Regions from separate parts of the Homo sapiens genome. Here region 1 is linked to region 2. The links are contacts of gene promoters, found by promoter capture Hi-C in blood cells and fetal thymus (Javierre and others, 2016). All regions are on one chromosome and are shown on one strand. The core of a region is centred on a gene start or on the middle of the fragment in contact, and the rest is flanking DNA. Distances in the headings are between cores, read along the strand shown. Region 1 holds the start of CASP6 (caspase 6). Region 2 holds the start of OSTC (oligosaccharyltransferase complex non-catalytic subunit).

The links. The method cuts DNA at HindIII sites, captures the fragments that hold promoters and counts their contacts. A CHiCAGO score of 5 or more calls a contact.
Region 1: a contact is called between the fragment with the promoter of CASP6 here and the fragment with the promoter of OSTC in region 2, in 4 of 17 cell types (total CD8 T cells, M1 macrophages, fetal thymus and 1 more). The highest score is 11.7, in total CD8 T cells.

What each region holds. Positions count from the first base shown.
Region 1 is chr4:109,700,935-109,705,766 of GRCh38, forward strand. It overlaps CASP6 (caspase 6), which reads right to left and starts at 2,511. Exons shown (of 7, transcript NM_001226.4): 1 at 2,422-2,511. The coding sequence starts at 2,461. RefSeq lists enhancers at 1,113-1,172, 1,933-1,992, 2,883-2,932 and silencers at 2,173-2,282, 2,433-2,722. The HindIII fragment of the contact is 4,197 bases long and covers 1-4,169 here.
Region 2 is chr4:108,647,034-108,652,105 of GRCh38, forward strand. OSTC (oligosaccharyltransferase complex non-catalytic subunit) reads left to right here and starts at 3,566. Exons shown (of 4, transcript NM_021227.4): 1 at 3,566-3,761. The coding sequence starts at 3,623. RefSeq lists enhancers at 3,506-3,855, 4,470-4,519. The HindIII fragment of the contact is 4,127 bases long and covers 1,522-5,072 here.

The DNA of each region.
Region 1 (4,832 bases), core at 1,261-3,760, 1.1 Mb after region 2:
CATTATGCCGCATTAATATTTATTTTTTATTACTATCTTTTTGGGATGGAGTCTTGCTCTGTTGCCTAGGCTGGAGTGCAGTGGCGTGGTCTCGGCTCACCACAACCTCCGCCTCCGGGTTCAAGCGATTCTCCCGCCTCAGCCTCCTGAGTAGCTGGGATTACAGGCATGCGCCACCACACCCAGCTACTTTTTTTTTGTATTTTCAGTAGAGACAGGGTTTTGCTATGTTGTCCTGGCTGGTCTTGAACTCCTGGCCTCAAGTGATCCACCTGCCTCAGCCTCCTGGAAGTGCTGGGATTACAAGCATGAGCCACCACGCCCGGCCTGCGTTAATATTTAAAAACCTGGATAAAGTAAGAAATAGCTTTATTGATATGGAGAAAATAAATTTTAATGAAGGAGCTACCCTGTATAACAGATATAGAAATTCCTTTTCATCTGCAATCTACTTATCAAAAATGTGCCCTTCTTTAAACCTGATTCTTGACCTCTTTTCACTTTTTTTTTTTGAGACAGAGCCTCCCTCTGTCGCCCAGGCTGCAGTGCAGTGGCGCAATCTTGGCTCACTGCAAGTCCACCTCCAGGTTTCAAGCGATTCTCCTGCCTCAGTCTCCCCAGTAGCTGGGACTAGAGGCGCCCACCACTGTGTCTGGCCCTCTTTTCACTTCTCTTCCTTTGCAGGATAATGTAACTGCCACCTCCTTATTCCTTAAATCAGCTTAGGTTTTACAAAACTAATCATTCCTTTTTTCACCTCACTCTAATTTGATAGTCCCTCCAGATAATCCTGCCAGCTACCATTTGTTGATGGCCTGATGCCTTAGATACCTTATCTCACAGCTCCACAGCTCAGGAACAGGGACAGAGAAAGTGGGCCAGGCGTGCCAAGGTCGGCAAAGTGAAGCTGGGATTGAAAGCCAGCCCACCTACAGATTCCAAAGTCTCTGTAGGCCCATCCCCACGCAGCCCCTCCCACCCGAGACCGGCTACCTTTCTAAACTTTGTTCAACTTCCCAAACGACTTCGGTCATTCTACTGTCATCGTCTTCATTCACTGCACTCTCTATGAAAATCTACCCATCGGCTCCATCAACAATGTATTTAGTAACCCTATGTAGAGTAACCTCCATCAGGCCTAGAACATGCACTGGGGAGTGCGGTGGAGGAAGAAGAGGAAGGGAGCAGGTGAGTGAAGGAAAGCCCCGGCTTCCCGCCCCTAGAGACTGCAACTGGACCCTGCACTGTGCCTCCAGGACAAGGCTACCTATCTACCTCCTCTACGACCATGTGACTTTTACAGCTTGCCTCTGGAGCACCATTTCCTTTGTGCAGCAAAATATAAAGAGTTCTTAAACAAAGGCACTCTAACCAACTGCAGGCGTTTCGTTCTTTTTTTTTTTTTTTCTTCTTGATTCGAAGTCTCACTCTGTCGCCGAGGTTGGAGTGCAGTGGGGCGATCTCGGCTCACTGCAACCTCCACCTCCAGGGTTCAAACGATTCTCTTGTCTCAGCCTCCCCAGTAGCTTGCGCCCAGGCCTGGCTAATTTTTTTGTATTTTTAGTAGAGACGGGGTTTCACCGTGTTAGTTAGGCTGGTCGAGAACTCCCGACCTCTGGTGATCCGCCCGCCTCGGCCTCCCAAAGTGTTGGGATTACAAGGCGTGAGCCACCACGGCCGGCCAACTGCAGGCGTTTCGACCTTTTTGTTTGTTTCACTCTGGCCAGGCTTGAAGTTTCTAAACTTTACCAGTAATAAGTGACAGAACGTACGCTCTTAGCAGTTGATTACTTTGCAGAAAAAAGTTATTGTGGTTTTGGCTCAAACCGACAGACAGCAGCAGGTTTCCTGGATGAAGAAGAGAGATACCGGGGTGTGCTGGCCGCCAGGAACTGGCCGCCTCCAGCTGAAGCCCGGGAGGACCCAGGGTCTTGGCCCGGGCACCCCGCGGGCCTGTTATGTTTTCATTATGACTCGGCGGAACAACCCCTCCTTTTCACTTTTCGAAGTGAGCAAACAAAAGATCCAACCCCCAACATTTCAAACGGCCAGGTGTGGGGGAACGCCAGGCCCGCGTGGGGACAGCCTTTTAAGGTTTAAACAGCCGGGGCGCCCCGAAAGCGCTCATCGCCCCGGAGGACAAAGGCGGCAGGGGCACGCCCCGGCGCCGGCGTCGCTACTCGGGACCGCCAGGAGGCGGCAGCCAGGTCCCCGAGTGTTTCTTAGACTGAAGCGCGAAACCGTCCCCACCCGCCCTGAGCGCTTCAATCCAAGAGTGCAACTTCTCCAGGCCGCCCTGCAAAGCCGAAGGAACCCGCGGCCCCACTCCGGTCCGCGCGCCCGGTCCACTAACCCTCGTTTCCCCTCCAGCCGGAGCAAGACGCAGACCTGCTCGGTGCCCAGTCGACGCCCCCTGCCTACCTGCCGGGTGCCCCCTGCGGAGCCCCGAGGCCGAGCTCATTGCAGCCAAACGCGCAGCCAGACACCTTGCCCTCCTCTTCCTGAAGCCACAGGCTCCCGGGCCCGGCCCCGCCCTCGGCCCTTCCTCGGCGGCCCCGCCCCCTGCCCCCGAGCGTGGGGCCAGTTGGTTCTGATTGCGCGCCGCCCGGGCTCCCGTGGATCGGGCTGGTCCTTCCCAGAGTTAAAGCTCCTCCCAGTCGCTCCGGAGCCCGCGGGGACCAAGAGCGCGGGGGCAGGGAGAGGTACGCGGTCTTCGCCTCCAGGCCCGCTGGGACTAACCGTGCCCTGGGGACATGCCAGTTGCCACCCGGGGGGACACACAGACCGCCTAGCCCGAGGCAATTTCACATCACTTGTGTGAGCTCGGACTCATTTAATCCCAGCTGCCCCAAACATTTGCTATTCCTTACTTTGCTATGCCTGTACTTTCTAGAGGTACAGGCATAGATTGTTTTATACCGCTTAGCAGATACTGCCTGTATTTCAACATTGGCTCGCTTTGTGTCTCTGTGTCACATTTTGGTACTCTCGCAATATTTCAAAATTTTTCATTGTTATTATGTCTGCTGTTGTGATCTGTGATCAGTAATCTTTAATATTATTGCAATTGTTTTGGGGCACCATGAACCGCGCTCATAAAGGAAGGGGAAATTAATCCATAAGCCCTGTATGTGTTTGGACTGTTCCACCGAACTTTCCCTTCTCTCTCCCCCTCCTGGGGCCTCCCTATTCCTGGAAACACAATTTTGAAATTAGGCCAACTAATAATCCTACAAAGGCCTCTAAGTGTCCAAATGAAAGGAAGAGCCTGTCACTTTAAATCAAAAGCAAACATGATTAAGTTAGTGAGGAAGTAATGTTGGTAGGCAGAAAGCTAGGCTTCTTGCTCCAGTTAGCCAAGTTGTGAGTGCAAAGGAGAAAAGCCAAGTCATGAATGCAAAGGAAAAAATTTTGAAGGAAATTAAAAATGCTACTCCAGTAAACACACAAAAGACAATAAAGCTAAACAGCCTTATTGCTGATATGGAGAAAGTTCTAGTTGGTCTGGATAGAAGATAAAAACAGCCACAACATTCCCTTAAGCCAAAGCCTAATCCAGAGCAAGGCCCTAACTCTTCAATTCTATGGAGGCTGAGAGAGGTGAGGGAATTGCAAAAGAAAAGCTGGAAGCTAGCAGAGAGGATGGTTCCTGAGGTTTAAGGAAAGAAACTATCTTCATGACATAAAAGTGCAAGGTGAAGCAGCAGGTGCTAACGTAGAAGCTGCATCAGGTTATCCAGATCTAGCTAAAATCATTGATAAAGGCAGCTACACTAAACAACAATCTTTTGTTTTTGAGACAGTCTTGCTTTGTCACCAAGGCTGGAGTACAGTGGTGCGATCTTTTGCAACCTCTGCCTCCTGGGTTCAAACGATTCTTCTGCCTCAGCCTCCCAAGTAACTGGGATTACAGGATGTGCCACCATGTCCAGGTTAATTTTGTATTTTTAGTAGAGACAGAGTTTCACCATGTTTGGCCAGGCTGGTCTTGAACTCCTGACCTTGAGCAATCTGCCCGCCTCGGTCTCCCAAAGTGCTGGGATTACAGGTGTGAGCCACCGTGCCCAGCCAAAACAACAGATCTTAAATGTATATGAAACGGCCTTCTATTGGAAGAAGATTCCATCTAAGACTTTCATAGCTAGAGAGAAGTCAATGCCTGTCTTCAAAGCTTCAAAGAACAGGCTGATGCTCTTGTTAGGGGCTAATACAACTGATGACTTTAAAGCCAACATTCCTTTACCATTCTGAAAATCCTAGTGCCCTTAAGAATTATGCTAAATATGATCTATAAATGGACCAACAAAGGCTAGTTAGTGACAGCACATCTATTTACAGCATGGCTTAGAGAATATTTAAAGCCCACTGTTGAGCTCTAGTGCTCAGAAGAAAGGTTCCTTTCAAAATATTACTCCTCATTGACAATACACCTGGTCATCCAAGAGTTCTGATAGAGATGTACAGAGACTGATGCTGTTATCGTGCTTGCTAACACAACATCCATTCTGAAGCCCAGGGATCAAGGAGAAATTTTGACTTTCAAGTCTTATTTACAAAATACATTTCATAAGGCTATAGCTGTCATCATGATTCCTCTGATAGTTCTGAGCAAAGTAAATTGAAAATCTTCTGGAAAGGATTCATCATTCGAGATGCCATTAAGAACATTTGTGATTCATGGGAGGTCAAAATATCCACTTACGGTATGTAACTAGAGACTAGAGGGGGAAAAAAAGAAAAACGAAAAATTAAAAGTACATGTATCAGCCACAGTGGCTCATGCCTGTAAACCCAGCACTTTGGGAGGCCAAGGTGGATTGCTTGAGGCCAGG
Region 2 (5,072 bases), core at 2,316-4,815:
GGCAGAAATCACTACTCAGCATCTTTCAAGTCTTTGATAGCACATCAGCCACTGAAGTCACTTTAGATTTATTATTTCTGTAGGTAAAAGCAGTTCTACTGGTTACACTTAGACTTTCCTGCCATAAAAGCCCTCATAATATGGGTCAGGAAACCAATATGGTGATTTTTCCATTTGCTGAGTACATTTATCCCAATTGTACATTCTAGAACTCAGTGATCTCACTACCTCTGGAAGGAGAACTAAAATTAGAATAGTGATAATGGGAAACTCGTTCCATATGTGTCTCTAATATTTGAATAAATTAATTATTTTACATTGGGCAGGTTCCTATGTTTTACTTGCATAATTTTATTTCTTATTTTCATTATTTATTTGTTTATTCATTTATTTTTAGAGATGGAGTTTCTCTCTTGTTGCCCAGGCTGGAGTGCAATGGCACGATCTCGGCTCACTGCAACGTCCGCCACTCGGGTTCAAGCCATTCTCCTGCCTCAGCCTTGCAAGTAGCTGGGATTAGAGGCATACACCACCATGCCCAGCTAATTTTGTATTTTTTAGTAAAGATGGGGTTTCATCATGTTAGTCAGGCTGGGTTCGAACTGCTGACCTCAGGTGAGGAGGCCTCCCAAAGTGCTGGGATTACAGGCATGAGCCACCGTGCCCAGCCATTACTTGCATATAATTTTAAAAACAACCTTCAAAATGTAAAATAACTACAACAATAACACCAAACCCCACAATATTGCATTAGAAAGAGTTTTTATTTAGATCATGAGACATAATAGTGCTTCGTACTCATGCTTATACAGAACCTAGCGCGAAAGAACATAATTCAAGACACTGTCAACCAAACTGCAAAATGTCTTCATAAATAAAAATCCAGGTTAATATTAGTATTATTATCCTACAAAAAACAAAGCTACTAATTTCCTCTCCAACACATATTTAAATAAACAGAAATCAACAATATTTGTAGCCTTTGTAATTCTAGTTTGTTTAGAATTTAGTTAAAAACTTATTTGTGGAGCTCTCCCTCTCTTTTGGCTGGCAGAACCATTTCTGACTTCAAGGCTTTTTATTAAAATATTCTACAATGAACACAGAAAGCTTGGTAGATACCATCTTTACACTTTTTTCTTCTTTGAATATATATTTGCTTGTGCACAGTAAGAATTATTAACATTTGCTTTTATATGTAGCTTAAGATGACAGCTCTACTGCATATTATATTGTAAACTGTGTTTCTCTCAACATTTTTCCTTCTTCATCTATAAATAGAAAACCACTGAATGATTGATTATATGTTTATTTAAGGGCATGCTCTAATGCCCACTGCTATATTCATTATTTCTTTGGTTTTCAGTTACAGAGTTTATGTTATGTTTAAATAGAACATTTTTCTGTAGGAATTGTGGGTTAGGACATGGATGATAACAGATATGCATATCTTACTCATGAAAGGTCTCTTTTATACGTGGCTTATAGAATATTACAAACTCATGTTGAAAAATATTTCAAAGCTTAAGAGGTTAAAAAATAATAATGAATTGGTTCCTGGAGCAAACTTACTTTTTGGAAAGTGATAGTAATAATTTAACATATAGATGAATGCAGTGTGTTCTGACTTGGCAGTTTTATTATTTATGAAATTAATTTTTCATTTAAAAATTATATATTAATAATTTATATGTTTTCCACAATGTAGGTAGAAATTATGTGTCCCTAGTATACACAGGAAGAAGGATAAGTATATAAACGTATACCATTTTAAACGTCTTAAATCTATTTACTTCTACAGCAATTGCCTTTTAGGTCTCATCCAGTCACAGACTATACTACACTTTTTGAGTTTATTTCCCTTCCCAGGAGCCACTTTTGTCATATGTAAAGCAGTTATACTAGTATTTACCTAACAGAATTGTCATGAAGAGTATATAAGCACAAATGTAAATCACTTAACATAGTACCTGCCAAGCAGTGGTTAATTAATGTTAGATTCCTTTTTAAGCTATAAAGGAAATTTAAAAACCTTTAATCCCTATGTTTTTCCAAAGCAAAATGTTTTATTTTTATTTTTTTCTTCATACCAAAGCAAAATATTTTAATTGTTCCAAAGTGTTCCTTACTTATAAAACTGTGGGAATTTCAGAAACATTCTGCTTTACAGTGCCCAGAGAAACTTCCTACATATAAACGCTGGTTTTGGTGTAAATGCATTCATTATTGGTGTTATCATTGGCCTTTACATAACCTAAGATTCGTGTGGCTCCGTTAAGACATAGGCAATATGACTCTGGGAGAGACTCTCACTAATGAACAGTAAGGGCAGCAAGCCTCAACTGTACTTAGAATTGGATACTACAATGTTTTGATAGTATTTTCATTACCGTCTTCAAGCAATTTCTTAACAATTGAGTTGTTAGCTAATTAGAAGTGCAGAACCAATACATGGCATCCTGTAAAAATAACCACGGGCTTAGTAACAAGCAAATAAAAAAATATAAAAACATTGGCTCTATAATGTGTCAATATGCTCTGGACTTATGTAATCAGTGACTCTTAACTCTTGCTCCAAAAGGAAGTTAACATTTGTAGAGTCTTAAAAGATTATATAAAAAAGAAAAGCAAAACAGAAAACAAAAAATCTTTTAGACCTTCTAGTCCATCCCTAATGACTAATTCTCCATCATATATTTTCATCTATTTGGATTGTAAATGTTGCCCAGACCAGAGATGGCGGTGGTTCACACTAGGGTGTCAGTGGTGGAATGGTGAGGGGCAGATGAATTGGAGATATTTTGGTAGTACAGCCAAAGAGACCTACTAATATTTTGGATGCAGAAGGTTAGTAAGGAGAGAAATCCAGACGACTTTAAGATTTTTGGCCAGAGGGATTTTACCTTTTAGCGACATACAGATGACCAAGGGAAGAGCAAAGTTGAGAGGATGAGTTATTCAAAATAGTATTATGGTCACGCCAAGCTATCAGCATTAAGGCATCCCTGTAGAGATGTCCTGTTGACATTTGTGATCCAGGCTGGATGTTTAAAAAAAATTGGTAACATATTACTTTAGCAACTATTATTAATTCTTATTATTACCACGACTACATCGGGAAGTAAAAGCTCAGCAGCCTCCGGCTTTTCCTAACCCTTGAAAAAACCTCTAATATAAAAGGCATTTATATCCAAAAGTTCCCATTCATCTCCCGCTCTGGGAACCGGGAGCGCCCCCTGTCCAATCAGCTTTCAAATCCCCTGCGTCAGCGAGTGGGCGGGGCTCACCTAGATTCCTTGGCCTCCGCTTCTCCGGCTTGGCCACGTTAGAAGTCCCGCAGGTCCTTGAAGGTACACAAATCACCTATATATCCATTAGAAAAATGTAGAGTACATTATCACAATGTAAGTTTAATTAGATTAAATAATTTACAACACTTTATTCATATCATTTATTTGTTTTATTTAGTTTCTTATTTTCTTCTATGAGTATAGTAACCACCTCCGAGCTTTACGGATCTGCGGGTCCTTTCCTCGCGCACGCGCACTTGTTAGGGAGGGCGGGCCTGTTTCCGGGAGGCGCGTGGGGCTTGAGGCCGAGAACGGCCCTTGCTGCCACCAACATGGAGACTTTGTACCGTGTCCCGTTCTTAGTGCTCGAATGTCCCAACCTGAAGCTGAAGAAGCCGCCCTGGTTGCACATGCCGTCGGCCATGACTGTGTATGCTCTGGTGGTGGTGTCTTACTTCCTCATCACCGGAGGTAACTCGGGCTGTCGGGCCCGAGAGGCTGAGGAGCGGAGAACTGACCCGCCCCGGGAGGCGCGTCTGTTCCGCTGACTCTCAGCCCCGGGGGAAGCATAGCTCTGCTTTGGATCTTTTCTGAGGGTGGAGGGGAGTTCTGGGGTCCGAAGTGTTAACGTCCAAGTTTATTCGCCTTCACGCCCTGTCTTAAGAGAATTCGTGTTCTCACTCCCATTGCCTTTCTTCTCCTTCTAGCCCTCCCATCCCAGGGATCCGAGTCAAATATATTTTTCAAGGCCAAATTGTTGCTCTTTTTGTTGCTTGCCATACGTTGTTTGATAAATGTCCTGGGAAAGCCTAATTTGGCAAACTCCGTTTCCATGGTTGGTTGTTTGATAAAGGTCCTGGGAAGGTCTAATTTGGCCAACTCCGCTTCCATGGTTGGTCAAGAGCTTGTGGGACTTTTAAACTTATCTTTGTCCTGGAATCTTGGAAGAGACTTGACAATCTTTAGTTTTGTTGGCTCAAACCTAGGGTTCTGTGTTGCCTTTTGCATGACCTACAATAAATATCAATGGAATTTTCTGAAATCACAGGTTTGATAAATATTTGAGATTGGAGATGAGATTTGCAGACGATACTGTATTTCAGTGGGCAGAAGTTGAGAATTAAAAAAATAAGATAAATAGCATTACTATTAAACGCTTCTGAATTGTCTATCATCTTATTCTGTCCTTTTCAAATAGAAAATTGCAAAGGGGCGTTGCCTTATGTACTGGTGAGTTGGCAATCCGGCTAGTCTTTTCAGAGCCACTACCCTTTCAGGCCACAGTTCCAAGATTTACTTAGAACTGTGCTACTGTGTACATTTAGATTTGGGGAAGTGGTGTACTTAACTTGGAAATTATAAAATTAATTTAGATTTTGGGAAGTGGTGTACTTAACCTGGAAATTATAAAATTAAAGCTACGGATTTGGGATAGCAAAAGTAGTTCTACTTTTAAGGGAGTGGCCATATAATTGTTATTTTCATAGATGTTTTGTGAGAATAGTTGGCACTGAAGGGGGAGGATTCAAACTGAGAGAGCTGAGTTCTAGAAAGCACCTTTGAATTTACCTCCTTCCCCCAATCTAGAATAGTGAGAATTAACTTACGTTCATTTAAATAAATTACATTTAAATATTTGAGTTACATTTAAATACTTATTTGGTAACAAGATACTATCTAGCATTGCATTAGCATTAACCATTAACATTTGCTCATCAAGTTAATAGCTACTGTACTGAATAAACAAAATTTAAAATGCATGTGGCTTTTAAAAATAATAGA